Regions from separate parts of the Homo sapiens genome. Here regions 2 and 3 are each linked to region 1. Evidence: promoter capture Hi-C in human tissues and cell types (Jung and others, 2019). All regions are on one chromosome and are shown on one strand. Each heading gives the region's core, a stretch centred on a gene start or on the middle of the fragment in contact. The rest is flanking DNA. Distances are from core to core; before and after follow the strand shown. Region 1 holds the start of GPIHBP1 (glycosylphosphatidylinositol anchored high density lipoprotein binding protein 1). Region 2 overlaps LY6K (lymphocyte antigen 6 family member K). Region 3 has its middle 17 kb from the start of CYP11B1.

Evidence for each region. Contacts are between HindIII fragments. The study calls those that stand out against the background at their distance.
Region 2: a fragment that was not itself captured here is called in contact with the fragment with the promoter of GPIHBP1 in region 1 in 4 of the 25 tissues and cell types used here (dorsolateral prefrontal cortex, lymphoblastoid cells, mesendoderm cells and 1 more).
Region 3: a contact is called between a fragment that was not itself captured here and the fragment with the promoter of GPIHBP1 in region 1, in 4 of the 25 tissues and cell types used here (lymphoblastoid cells, mesendoderm cells, spleen and 1 more).

What each region holds. Positions count from the first base shown.
Region 1 is chr8:143,211,389-143,216,080 of GRCh38, reverse strand. It overlaps GPIHBP1 (glycosylphosphatidylinositol anchored high density lipoprotein binding protein 1), which reads right to left and starts at 2,863. Exons shown (of 4, transcript NM_178172.6): 1 at 2,762-2,863; 2 at 2,131-2,259; 3 at 955-1,068; 4 at 1-822. The coding sequence starts at 2,813. The coding sequence ends at 563. The HindIII fragment of the contact is 48,923 bases long and covers 1-4,692 here.
Region 2 is chr8:142,703,831-142,708,522 of GRCh38, reverse strand. It overlaps LY6K (lymphocyte antigen 6 family member K), which reads right to left. Exons shown (of 3, transcript NM_017527.4): 3 at 3,396-4,692. LNCOC1 (lncRNA associated with ovarian cancer 1) reads left to right here. Exons shown (of 3, transcript NR_038925.1): 2 at 105-208; 3 at 944-4,692. Among named protein-coding and RNA genes, the nearest start is that of LY6K, 6.1 kb to the right of the region's middle. The HindIII fragment of the contact is 5,820 bases long and covers 1-4,692 here.
Region 3 is chr8:142,894,890-142,899,581 of GRCh38, reverse strand. No RefSeq gene overlaps it. Among named protein-coding and RNA genes, the nearest start is that of CYP11B1, 17 kb to the right of the region's middle. The HindIII fragment of the contact is 4,037 bases long and covers 1-3,946 here.

The sequences.
Region 1 (4,692 bases), core at 1,614-4,113:
ACCCCAACCCACCTCCCTGTGCCCTCTCATCCTCAGCGCGCCTCTCCCACTGTCCCGCCTCCCCCAGGCCCGTCTTTCCTGGGGGCGACGACAGCCTCCCTCCAAATCCCCTTCCCTCCAGACAGCGGAGAGGCCGACCTGGGGAAGGGCAGGGTGGGCCCGTGTGACCGCTGCAGATGGAGGAATTCCCATGGCAGAAGTTAAGGGTGAGGACTGGGTGTGGGGGCCCCCAGGTGTGTGGTGGGTATCATCTCTGCCTGGCTGTGCTGATGGGGATCCCCAGCCCCCATGAGGGCTGCAGGTCCTGGGGCGTGGCAGCCGAGGTCTGGACCCAGCGCCCACGTGCGGCAGTCTTGCTGCTCACAGGTGGTGGAGAAAGGACACCAAGGACACAGCCGGGAACTGAGGAAGCAACCGGGCCGGGGGGCCTGCGCTGGCTGGATCGCCCAAGACACTCCAAATCCATTCTCCAAAGCTGGTGCAGGGGCAGGAGGGGAAGGTACCAGACAGAGTGCTGGCAGGGCCGGGGGTGAGCCGGGTGGGGGTGGGGAGGGGCCGTGGGTCAGGGTCTCCTGGCCCCCATTGCTCCAAGGCCGGCAAGGAGGTTGAGCAGGAGGGCTGCGCCCACAGTTTCGGAGCTGCCCCGGGGGCCGCCTGCCCCCTTGCCTGTTGGGTCCTGGACTCGGGAGCTTTGCCAGGGTGGGACATTGCACAGGCTGGACTGGCAGCAGGTCATGGTCACCTGGGTCCCCTCCACCGTCTTGGTGATGGGCTGGCAGCTGTCTGTGCACCACGTGGAGTGGGTGGTCAGGAGGCCTGACTCTGGGAAGGGGAGTGGGGAACAAGTGCTGAGGATGGGCGGGGTCTCTGAGGTGGCTCTGCAGGGCTCTGTTCCGGGCCCCTGGCTTTCCCGCCGCCTGGGGGTGCATGTGCTGCGGCCCCACGCCCACTTACCGGTGTTCCCGTGGGCAATGAGGGTTGTGCAGGTCTGGCCATGTGAGCAGTTCTGCGTCAGGTTGCAGCGCTCGTCCCTGGGCAGGGACTTGCAGGTGTAGCACCGCAGCAGCACTGGGGACAAGGCGGGCTCAGGCCGAGGCCGGGCCCCCCAGGGTCTCCTCCCACGTCCCTGTCCACCTCCCCGTTCTCAGCTGTGCTCCCAAAGCCTAGCCTGGTGAGCCTCCAGCACCCACTGCTCAGATGGGCGGGCGACCCCTGACTTGGTCCTGTAAGCTGTGCTGTGTGCGTGAGCCTGTGTGTTTAGGGGGCAAGGGATTGCGGGTCAGGCAGGGCGAACTTCCCATCATCACTCACGTCCTGCGACAATGCTGCCCAGGCTCCTGCCGTGGTCACAGAAACCTGGAGGTGGGTCTGACTCAGTCCTGCCTCCAGGAGCACCAGGCCTGGCAGAGGAGGGCCTCACAGGGGACACCTCGTGGGTGTGTGGGGCAGGGCTCGTGCTGAGGGCAGGCTTGGGGCTCCTGGGAGGGGGGTGGGCTGTGTGTGGTGGGGCATGCTGGGGGCCCTGGCTAGGGAGGGGCTGTGTGTGGTGGGGCACGCTGTGGTCCCTGGCTAGGGAGGGGCCGGCCCTCGGGTTGGATGCGGCGATTTGCTCTGCTTTTCTCGGGATGGGAGAGAGCAGAGGGTGGCCCACGTGTAGGGGTGTGTCAGGTGGGCAGTGAGGGTGGGCTCTTCTTAGCCCTACTCTGCTCTGCTCTAAGCGGTTCCCTGGCTCCCCAGCCCGCAGCAGCCAATCCAGCCCTCCCCTGTACAGGACCGGCCCACCCTGCTGCTCTCTCTGCCCCACAAAACTGAACCCTACCCTGGGGCCTCTGTGCTTGTGTCTCCACCCTAGGCCCCCACTGAGCCCTTCTCTGCCTGGTGAACTCCTATTTAACCTCTACATCCTGGCACCACTGACCCTCCCAGCTGGTGGCTTCTTCCCCTGTTCCCTACTCTGGAAGGCAACTGAGTGTCATGGTGAGCAGCAGTGAGGGGTGTACTGAGTGTCCCCCACTCTGCTGGAGGCAAGCTCACAGCAGGACTGTGGCCTGCTGGCTTCCATCACACAGCCCCGCCCAGAATGCTCCAGGCAGATCAGGCAGCAGGGCTCTGGGGTTGGGGCGGCCATACCTCTGCTCCTGCCACCAGGGAGCCTGTTGGTCTCCTCCTCTTCCACCTCATCCTCATCTTCCTCGTCGTAGTCATCTGGCCCGTGGTCCTCGTCCTCTTCCTCTTCCTCCTGCTGTGTCTGCCCTCTCCCTGGCCGTGCAGGGATGCTTGTAAGCCTCAGCTACCCGGGTATGGAGGACACCTGCTCTGGGCAAGCATCGTGCCCCCAACTCCTTGGCCCTCCCCAGCCATCCTCGGGCCCCAGGGTGGCTGGGGAGGGCCCCTACCCTGAACACCCTACTCACCCTACTCACTGTCCTGCAGCCTACTCACCCTACTCACTGTCCTACTACCCTACTCACCCTACTCACTGTCCTGCAGCCGAGTGTGCCCTGGCATTGTAGTTACAACAGCAGCTGCTGTGGGCTGGCCCTTTATGGTAGCCCCTCCCCGCACCCCACATAAACAGGGGCGCAGATATTTGGGGACTCTCGGGGACCCAGGCCAGCTTCCATCCATGCTGCTCTGGGCTGGGGACTCCAGCCTCATCCCCTCCTTCTTCCTAAGCCCCTGCTGGGGGTCCCTGGAGGTCCCTGTGCTCCAGGACTGCTGTTGCTGCCCCCTCACCGCAGGGTTACCCTTTGCCCCGCACCTGGCCGCCCGAACAGCAAGAGGGCAAGCAGGACAGCCCCGAGCGCCTTCATCTCGCCGGACGCTGCTGTGTCCCTGACTCTGAGTCCTCCCGCAGGGCTCTGGAGCTGCGGTAAGTGGGATGAAGGGCATTGCCGTGGGCTTCCTAGTGGCCCCCACCAGCTCCAGCCTCAAACAATGGGCCTCACACTGGTCCCCAGCTCCAGGCGCCAGGCCAGGGACTGTTGTTTCCCTCCAGGACATCTGGGGCCAGAGGGGAAGGAGAAGTCATTGTGGTTGGCCTTGGAACGTCCTGTGCACCCGTGCCACGGCAGGTGGAAGGTGGTGCTGGCCCTCGCCTGGCTTGCCGCTCAGTGCCTCAGCCCTGCAGTGCAGGGCAGGGAGCCTCGCCCCGGAATGGGCCATGCCTGACACCCCTCAACCCCATGTCTGGGCTCCATAGTCACAGGACCTTGGGGTCACAGACCCTCTATTTGCTGGTCACTGGCCAAGCATCGTCATCCTAGAGTCAGCATCACACCCAGGCCCCTTTAAGAGCATTTAAGTAAAAACACAGTCAATGCCCTCAAGCTAAGGCTGCGTGCTCACCTCCTCCTCACCCACACTCAGCAATGCACTGCTAGGCCCAAGGCCTCCCGGCTGCCCCTCACTATCACCTCGGGTCTTTGCCCCTGCTGCTCCATCTGCAGTGCTGTTCCTGCTGGTGTCCGGTGGAGAGCTTTCTGGAGCTCTTGGGGGCCCGCCCCCTCGGTCTCTTGCTGGGAAAGCCATCAGCACCCACCTGCCTTCTGGCCTTGTGTGAGAGACGGGCTGCTCTGGGAGAGGCTTGGAAAGCCCAGGTCGCTCCCTGAGGCCACCCCCTCCTCTCAAGACCCCACCCAAGCCCTTGGGGGGTGCTGATGCAGAGTGCAGAGTCGAGGCTCTGAGCTGCCCCTCTCCCAAGGGCAGCAGAGGGGTGGGGCAGCGGCAGGGGCTGGACGTCCGGAGCCAGGGTCAAGCCTGAGCGTCTCTGTGTGCCTTGGTGCTTGGGCCAGGCACTTCACCTACTGAGGCCTCAGTTTCCCCGACTGTCAATGGGTGGGGTGGGGCATTTTCTGGCCGGCCACCTGTAACAGAGGTTGAGTTGGTTCTGGAGTGAGCTACCTGGGTTTAAGACCCGGTTCCTCCTTCCCCCGGCTGTGGGTTCTGGACTAGCCCCTTGGGTTCCCCAGGCCTCAGCTCCCTCATAGGGTGAGGTGACCATCAAGGGTCAGTACCTGCTGGGCTTAGGACAGCGCCTGAGGCTGGGAATACCTGTCTCTAATGTCCCAGCCACCGAGTCAACCATCCTTCCTTAATTCACCTGAACCTGTCATTCTTTCCACTCTACCGGCACCCACCCAGCATCTAGCCCTTCCCCAGCCAAGGCTGCAAGGTCACTTGCCAAGCCAGGGTCTCCCATAGTGGTGCCCACGCCACAGCCGGACACGCCCCGCCAGCCCCAAACTCTTCATACCTGATGCCTGTCCCCCCCAGCCCCGTCCCGCCCCGCCCCGCCCCGCCCTTCCCTGCCCCTCCGCGCGTGGCCCCACCCCCACCCGCCTCCCTGCGCCCTCTCGCCCTCGGCCCGCCTCCCCCACGCCCCGCCTCCCCCACTGCCCCGCCTCCCCCACTGCCCCGCCTCCCCCACTGCCCCGCCTCCCCCCACGCCCCGCCTCCCCCACTGCCCCGCCTCCCCCACTGCCCCGCCTCCCCCCACGCCCCGCCTCCCCCACTGCCCCGCCTCTCTCACGCCCCGCCTCCCCCCACGCCCCGCTTCCCTGGTGCCCCGCCTCCCCCACACCTGTCTACCCCATGCCCCGCCTCCCCCACTGCCCCTACTTCCCGTCGCCCCGCCTCCCCATCGCCCCGCCCCCATTCGCCCCTTCTCCCCAGCGTCCCACCTCCCTGTCG
Region 2 (4,692 bases), core at 969-3,468, 510 kb after region 1:
AAAAAAAAAAAAAAAAAGAGATGCATCCCTTTGGGAGGCACCCCTCATGAATGTGATTCATGCCTTTATGAAAGAGACTGAAGGGAATGTCTTTGCCTCTTTAGGTCTTTCCAGAGACACATAGAAGGTGCCATCTATGAGGAACAGGCCTTCACCAGACATCAAATCTGTTGGCATCTTGATCTTTGACTTCTCCACCGCCAGAACTGTGAGCAATAAATTTCTGTTCTTTACAAATTAATTAGTCTAAGGTCTTCTGTTATAGGTGGCTATCTAATGGGGCAGATTGTTGGGAACAAGTTTCTATACTCTTTATTTTTCTTATACTACATGACTAAATTCTCCACTTTAATGTTTTATTGCAGTGGTAACAATGTATAGGCTTATCATGTTTTTGCACTTAGATAGAACACTTCTAATGCTTCACCACTAAGTATGGTGTTTGCTTGAGGTTTCTGGTAAGTAACTTTTTTCAAAATATTGAAATTGCCTTCTATTCTTAGGTATCCAGGATTTTTAAAATGTTATAACTGAACGTTGATTATCATTTGGTTATTATTGCGTATTCTCTTGCTATGGTGAGTGGTATCTTTTCCTAAGATTTTTATTGTTCTCGCATTTCTGGGATAAATTGTACTTATCATAATGTATTAGTATTTTCATACACTTGGATTTGATTAGCCAATATTTTATTTATCTTTTGTTCACAATTATGATGGCTTCTAATTTCCTTTCTTGTGCTGTTTCTGTTTTATAGTATCAGTTTTGTGTTTGACCATAAAAGAATTTAGTCAGTAATAGTTTTTTAGTGCTTGAGATAGAAAGGCATTTCAGAGACCTGGACATGTTTGTTTGACCAAGCAGAGCTTTCAGAAAGTCTAGCTGTTTGGAAATTTATGAATTACTTCATGTGTATTACAGGAGGGTCGTTTTCTGTTTTCAGAGATCAAGACATGAAACCCATGTTCAAGATACTTTCCAGTGTGTCTTCATGTGATCCTCTGAGTCCAGCCATCAGGCTACCAGCAGCTCTTGGAAACCCTGACATACTTATTCTTAGAAGACTGCTTTCCGGACTCAAAGTGGAACCTCAAATTTTCAATTTTCTTTGTTTTTAAAGCCTACACATAGGTGATGATATATACATGCATATATATTTTGGAGAATTTATAATTCTGAAAACAATGCTGGTCTTATGGAACCCATCCATTCCCCTTTCCCCGTGTGTGCTCCGAGCTGTGGTGGCACGTGAAAAGGGGTCCTTCCAGCAGTGGCCCACAGCCCTGGGCTGCTTACTTGCTCACTTCATTTACAAGAGCAAGAAATACACATTCTTGTGTTGTTTAAGTCATTATGATGTGGGGATTTCCATTACTCACACACCTGATCTAGTAGTAACACAGTAGCCTATTTTAGCAATATCATTTATTCAATAATCCATTCTTTCCCCATTAGTTTTGAGCCTTCATTTATTGTGTACTAAGTTCTGGTTATTTTTAGTGGTTGTAATCTCCTTCTTTCCTACTCTCTTAATCATGGGATTGCCAATATCTGCTCTGTGTTTCTGTGCCATCTATAGCCTCTGGCCTTGGTACTGCTTCAAAACTGATATTTCTAACCTTACTTTGACTTCTCCATTCAGTGAAGTTCCCATAGTTCATCACTCAACTGCTCTCTTTCCATCGTGACCTTCTGAACTAGCTCACACCCAGATGTACTTTTGTTATCTGCCTTTCCCCCTCATAAACATGGGCTGCTGCTGGGGAAAATCCACTACCGAACTCTTGCAGGTCTCTGCAAATGTTTAATGCCCTGTCTTAGCCATGACCTCCACAATGCTGGGCTATCCTATGTTATGTCCCCTAAGATATCCCTTCTCTCTTACCTTTGGGGATAGTCCTAAGCTTCCATCATGGCACTCAAAGTCCAACCTTATTTGTACCCTCATTCTCTGAGCAGACACCACCGTATTCTGTTTCACAGAGAAAATGTGACTGCTGGGGATAATTCTTTCAACTTCCTGGCCTCTTCCTATACATGATCTTTCTCTGTATTCTTGCCTATTGCTCTTCCATGTTGATAGAAGTGTCTGTTCTCCTTGTCAGTGTCTCGGCCTTGGATCTGTCCCCTAGACTATTCTGCCTGTGTAAGGACCTTCCCTGACCAGCTGGGCCACCATCTCCTGCTTCTCCAATCCCTCACTCTAGACTGACTCTTAACCTTTGGTCAACAATACTTGAGCTTTTACATTCATAATGGAGCATCTGTGTTGAACCTTGTTCTTTTCTAGACACTACCCTCCGTTCTGTCTTCCATCCATGGTGACTTTTCTAGAAAGAGCATCTATCACACTGGAGACAGCAAACTCCTTGATCCATTCTAATTCCTAACCCTGCAATAATTTTCTATCTCCCTTACTCAAGTAATTGGGAGTGCTCCTAGTGTTACCAGAGACCCAGCAGTTCCCAATTTCGAATTTTTCCGTATTCACATTTCTTGACTTGCTATGATTTTACATCACAGATTACATCCTTCATTTGAAGAGACTCTAATGGAAGGCTGCCATGGAAACTCTCTCATGTGGCTGACCTCCTACCTCACTTGCTCTTTCTGAATGAAGTTCCCACTTTTGCCTGCCTTAATGAAAGTAATGCTCCCCAAACTCAAGCCCAGGGCTGCGAATTGGAAGCAGCTGGGGCTACTGTTTCTGGGTGCTGGTGTGAATGGCAGGATGTGAACACCAGCCTGTGACGGGCAAAAAGATGGACACACAGGCAGAGCCTGACAGGTGCTGGTGGTCCTATCTGGTCCTGAGTTGCTGGGACCCTCCTTGCCCACTGCCCCTAGAATGGACTTTGGCCTCAGGTTCGAAGTGTTCAGATGTGACTGAGATGAGCCTTTTCCCCATGCCTCAGGAATAGCGAAGAAACTCTATCTGGAAGGTTCCCCAGGCTTCCCCACCCAGCAGCCTCTGGTATTAGACCAGGCAGTGGCTGGCCAGGATGGTGGGGACAGAAGGGAGACAAAGGTGAGCAGTGGGTGGGGTCACATCCTCCCTGACATTGAATAGACAACATGGGGAGGAAGGATGAGTGATCTTTAGAATGTTCATGGAAAATGCATATTGGGAAAAAGAATGCATGAATTTCAAATTGTTTTGCAACAAAATAAACTTGTACTAACTTGTGAAAACACGTCCGAACAGGATCTAGTTTGAGGCCCTAAGAAGTATAAGACAACAGTTTGAACAGAGCTCCTATCAGACACATGAATTCTGCTAAAATTGAAACCAGAACAAACATGCAATTGATGGTGAAGCTTGGCTGGAAACATGGTGAAATCATTGATGATTTATTGAAAGTTTATAGGGACAATGCCTCAAAGAAATCAGCAATTTAAGTAAGTGGATAACTCATTGGAAGAAGAGAAGAGATGATGTTGGAGAGGAAGTCCACAGCAGCAGGCCAGCCACATCAGTCTGTGAGGAAACAATTCATCTTGTTTGTGCCCTAATTTAAGAGGACTGATTAATAGCAGCAGAAACAATAGCCAACGCTGTAGGTATCCCAAGGTGTTCAGCTTACACAATTCTGACTGAAATTAAAGTTGAGTAAACTGTCCACTCGGTGGGTGCCAAAACTTTCTCCCAGCTCAGCTGCAGATAAGAGAAAAGCGTTCTATGGCCATTTTAAACAAGTGGAATCAAGATCCTGAAGCATTTCTTCATATAATTATAGCCGGAGATGAAATGTGGCTTAACCAGTACACTCCTGAAGGCAAAGCACAAGCAAAGCAATGACTACCTAGAGGTGGGCGTGGTCCCATCAGAGTAAAAGCAGACATGTCAAGGGCAAAGGTCGTGGCAACCGTTTTGTGAATGCTCAAGGCATCTTGCTTATTGACTTTCTGGAGGGCCAAAGAACAGTAACATCTTATTATGAGAGTGTATAGAGAAAGTCAGCCAACGATTTAGCAGGAAAACACCCAGGAAATCGTCACCCCGGAAAGCTTCACCAGAGAGCCCTTCTCCACCATGACAATGCTCCTGCTCATTCCTCTCATCAAACAAGGCCAGTTTTGTGAGAGTTTCAATGGGAAATCACTAGGCATACACCTTCCAGGCCTGATTTGGTTACTTCTGTTTTATAATTTTAAAAAATCTTTAAAGGGCACCCACTTTTCTTCAGTTAATAACGTCACAAAGACTGAAGTGGCATGGTTAAATTCCCAGGGTGCCCAATTCTTTAGGGATGAACTGAATGGCTGGTACCATTACTTGCAGAAGCGTCTCGACCTTGATGGAGCTCATGCTGAGAAATAAAACATTTTTTAATTTTTATCTTTTAATTCAATTTTTTCGTGAACTTTTGAAGTCCCCTTGTATTTGTTTTTGGTGGAACTTTGAGTCTGATTTCTCAGCTCCCCATGGATGGCTGCATCTTAACAGAGAAATGAACGCCATTTACCCTGATGCTCTCTACTTGGCCTAAGTTTCAGATGTTGAACACACACGTGTGGGAATTTATGAATCTGTGCACCTGTGCCAGCTGGTGGGTGAAGTCTAAGTTTCTTCAACACAATTAGTTATCTTCTGCCTCCTGGAATCTGGTAGGAAAGGTTGAGGAAAAGCAGCCATCCACAGCGCCTCCACCACTGGAATGGGGGCAGCCCTAACGTGTGCCCCACTGCCCC
Region 3 (4,692 bases), core at 679-3,178, 320 kb after region 1:
GTGTTTGACCAAAAACTATACCATAGCTTAGTTAATGACATATAAAATTAACCATCAGAACTCTTTTTTTTTTTTTTTTTTTTTTTTGAGACGGAGTCTCGCTCTGTCACCCAGGCTGGAGTGCAGTGGCGTGATCTCGGCTCACTGCAAGCTCTGCCTCCCGGGTTCACGCCATTCTCCTGCCTCAGCCTCCCAAGTAGCTGGGACTACAGGTGCCCGCCACCACGCCCGGCTAATTTTTTTGTATTTTTAGTAGAGACGGGGTTTCACTGTGTTAGCCAGGATGGTCTCGATCTCCTGACCTCGTGATTCACCCGCCTCGGCCTCCCAAAGTGCTGGGATTACAGGCGTGAGCCACCGTGCCCGGCCACAACTCTTTTATCAATATATAATGACCTTCTTTGTCTTTTGTAACTTTTTTACATAAAGACTATTTTGTCTTATATTAGCATAGCCATCCAAGCTCCCTGGTTACTATTCCCATGAAATACCATTTTTCTACCTTTCACTTTCAACCTATTTGCATCTTTGGATATGATGTGAATCTGTTGAAGACCGCATGTAGTGGATCACAATTTTTATCCATTCTGCCTTTTCAATGGAGAGTTTGAACCATTTATATGTAAAGCAATTACTGATAAATAAGACAACTTCTATAATTTTTCTATTTGTTTTCTCTAGGTCTTCTACTGTTTATTTGTATCACAGAAATACAAAGGATTATAAGGCAATAGTGGAATCTATTTCTTTAGCTTGCATTAATCTGATGTTTTGACAAATTTGAGAGAGATTTTCTCCTTGAACACCAGGAGGAAAAGAAAAGAAAGAAAAAAAGAAAAGAAAAGAAAGAGGGGAAAAATAAAAAGACAAGAAAAATAATCACACTGTCTTTGTCTTTGCAGTTTGGGCCTGTTTTCGGGGCACTCCTGTAAACACAGCCAACACTGTCTTTGTCTTTGCAGTTTGGGCCTGTTTTCGGGGCACTCCTGTAAACACAGCCAACACTGTCTTTGTCTTTGCAGTTTGGGCCTGTTTTCGGGGCACTCCTGTAGACACAGCCAACACTGTCTTTGTCTTTGCAGTTTGGGCCTGTTTTCGGGGCACTCCTGTAGACACAGCCAACACTGTCTTTGTCTTTGCAGTTTGGGCCTGTTTTCGGGGCACTCCTGTAGACACAGCCAACACTGTCTTTGTCTTTGCAGTTTGGGCCTGTTTTCGGGGCACTCCTGTAGACACAGCCAACACTGTCTTTGTCTTTGCAGTTTGGGCCTGTTTTCGGGGCACTCCTGTAAACACAGCCAACACTGTCTTTGTCTTTGCAGTTTGGGCCTGTTTCCAGGGCACTCCTGTAAACACAGCCAACACTGTCTTTGTCTTTGCAGTTTGGGCCTGTTTTCGGGGCACTCCTGTAAACACAGCCAACACTGTCTTTGTCTTTGCAGTTTGGGCCTGTTTTCGGGGCACTCCTGTAAACACAGCCAGGAGGATTATAATTAGACACTGTCTTAGCATCTGTCCTGCCCTAGGAGCTTGTGGTTTTCTAGATTTCCCAGCATAGGTTGGCATTTCAAATCCTCTAGCTTCTCAAAGAAACACTCTTCCAAGCTTTTTCTTCTAGTGTTTTGACAAAGTTTTTTTTTCTTTCCTCAAGTTGAATCTTTTGCCTTTGATGATATCAGGTTACTCAGCTGCCTTACAATATTTTTGATGCGGGTCTTCCATAGCTACTTTTCCACTTGAATACATTCCAAGTTAGGCAAAACAAAGGCAAGGCCCTTGCATCAGTTCCTCAGGTAGTCCACAGAAAGGTTAGAACAAATAATGACAATTTTGGGGAATAAGCGCTGCCCTGATCCTTCTGTCTCCAGACCCCAGCATCCCACACTGGTAGCTTGAGCTGCCATCTTCAAAGACAGCCACTGATCTGGGGTGGGCAAAGCCAGAGCAAGTAAAGATACAGGAAAGCTTCTCTACAATGTAAGAGTTGTCACTTTCTTCATGTAGCATTTATGTGGTGGCCAGAAATAATTATTTTCCAGAGCCCTGACAAAGTTAATTTGTGCAGTTTTTGCTTGTTTTTTGAATGTTACTGTGATGGGTCACACATTTAGAGCTGCCCACCGCATTTTTGCTGAAGTCCTGGATTTCTTTGGCGATTTTAGAAATTAATAAAATTGGATGTAGTGATAGTTGTACATATTTGTGACTATACTACCAACCTTTAATTGTATACTTTCAGTAGGTGAATTATATGGTATGTGAATAACTTCTCAATAAAGCTATTTAAAAATAGAATCAGGCCAGGCATGGTGGCTCACCCCTGTAATCCCAGAACTGTGGGAGGCTTAGGCCGGACTTCAATACAACACTTTTAGCAATAAACAGATCATCCAGACATAAAATCAATAAGGATAAATCAGAATTGAATACATTTTAGACTAAATGAATCTAACAGAAATATACAAAACATTCGATCCAACAGTAGCGCAGTACACCTTCTTCTCAAGTGCACACAGATCATCCTCCCACATAGATAATATGTTAGATGAAAGAACAAGTCTTAAATTTAAGAAAATTAAAATCGTATCAAGTATCTTTTCTGGCAACAATATAAAACTAAGAAATCAATAGCAGCAGGAATTACAGAAAATTCACAAATATATAAAAATTAAACAACATGAACAACCAATGGGTCAAAGAAGAAATTTAAATAAAAAATTTAAAATATGTTGAGACAACTGAAAATGGAAACACAGTAGAGCAAAATATATGTAATGCAGTAAAAGCAGTTCTAAGAGGGATGTTTACAGCAACAAATGCCTGCATGAAAAAAGAAGAAAAATCTCAAATAAACAATGTAACATTACACCCAAAGGAACCAGATAAAGAAAAAAATAAAACCAATGTTAGCAGAGGGAAGGAAATAAGATCAGAGCAGAAGTAAACAAAATAAAGATTCCAAAAGCAATACAAAAAATCAACAAAACTAAGAGTTGGTTTTTTGAAAAGATAAACAAAATCAACAATCCTCTAGCTATACCAAATAAGAAAAAAAGAAGACTTGGGGTAAAATCAGAAGTAAAGGCTCAGAAGTAAAATCAGAAATGAAAGAAAAGACATTGTAACTGAAACCACAGAAATACAAAGCATTATAAGATTCTACTATGAATTATTGATTAACAACACATTAGATGACCTAGAAGAAAAGGATAAATTCTTAGACACACACAACCTACCAAGGCTGCATTATGAAGAAATATAAAATCTGAATGAGAGAAGAGAGACAGACCTTCTCATATTGTTTTATGTTGTTTTATACTCTGAAAAGGAAAGAGAAGCCAAACTAAAGGCAGGTGCCCCGGCGCCTAGGAACCAGACCCAAATCCAAGAAACCAGAACCGAAACCAAGCCTGGGCCTGACCTAAGCCTGGTAGTTAAAATTCGACCCCTGACCTAGCAACTGCTGTTATCTACAGATTACAGAAAGACATTGTAAAACTTCCCGGTCTGTTCTGTTTCACTCTGACCACCGGTGCATGCAGACCCTGTCACCTACCCCGTTTACTCAATCAATCATGACCCTCTCACGCAGACCCCCTTGGAGTTGTGAGCCCTTAAAAGGGACAGGAATTGCTCACTCAGGGAGCTTGGCTCTTGAGACAGGAGTCCTGCCGATGCTCCCGGCCGAATAAACCTCTTTCTTCTTTAACTCGGTGTCTGAGGAGTTTTGTCTGTGGCTTGTCCTGCTACATCAACAGACCAATAACAAGTAAGAGACTGAATTAGTGATTTAAAATTTCCAGTTAAAGAAAAGTTCAGAACCTGATGGCCTCACTGCTCAATTCTACCAAACCTTAAAAAAAAACACAAAAAAACCTTCTCAAACTCTTCCAAAAAATTGAAGAGGAGATAATACTTCCAAACTCATTTACAAGGCCAGTATTACCTTAATACCAAAGCCCAACAAACACATCACAAGAAAATAAAATTTCAAGCCAATATCCCTGATGGACATAGATGCAAAATTCCTCAACAAAATACGAGCAAACTGAGTTCAACAGCATATTAAAGGGAACATTCACCGTGATTAACTGAGATTTATTTCGGTGATGCAAGAATTGTTCAATATATGCAAATCAATAAATGTGATTCACTACATTAAAAAAAGAATGGCCTTAGGATCATCTCAATAGATGCAGAAAAACACTTGATAAAATTCAACATCCTTTCATAATAGAAACTCCCAGCAAATTAGGTGTAGAAGGAACATACCTCAACACAATAAAAGCCATACATAGAAATCTCTCAGCTAATATCATACTCAATGGTGAAAATTTGAAGGCTTTTCCTGGAAGACGAGGAATAAGACAAAAATGTCCATTCTTGCCACTTCTACTCAACATAGTGCTGGAAGTACTAGACAGAGCAATTAGGTAAGGGAAAGAAATAAAAAGCACCTAAATTAAAAGGGAAGAAATTAAATTGTCCTCATTTGCAGATGACAATGATCTTATAAATAGAAACCCTAAAGACTGCAACCAAAAAAAAACTGATAGAACTAAAATAAATTCAATAAAATTGCAGGATGAAAAAAGTCAAGAGACAAAAATTCATAGCATTTCTGCATACTAGTAACAAACTATACAAAAAAAAAAGAAATAAAAAAACCCAATTTTTCTGGGCACACTGTCT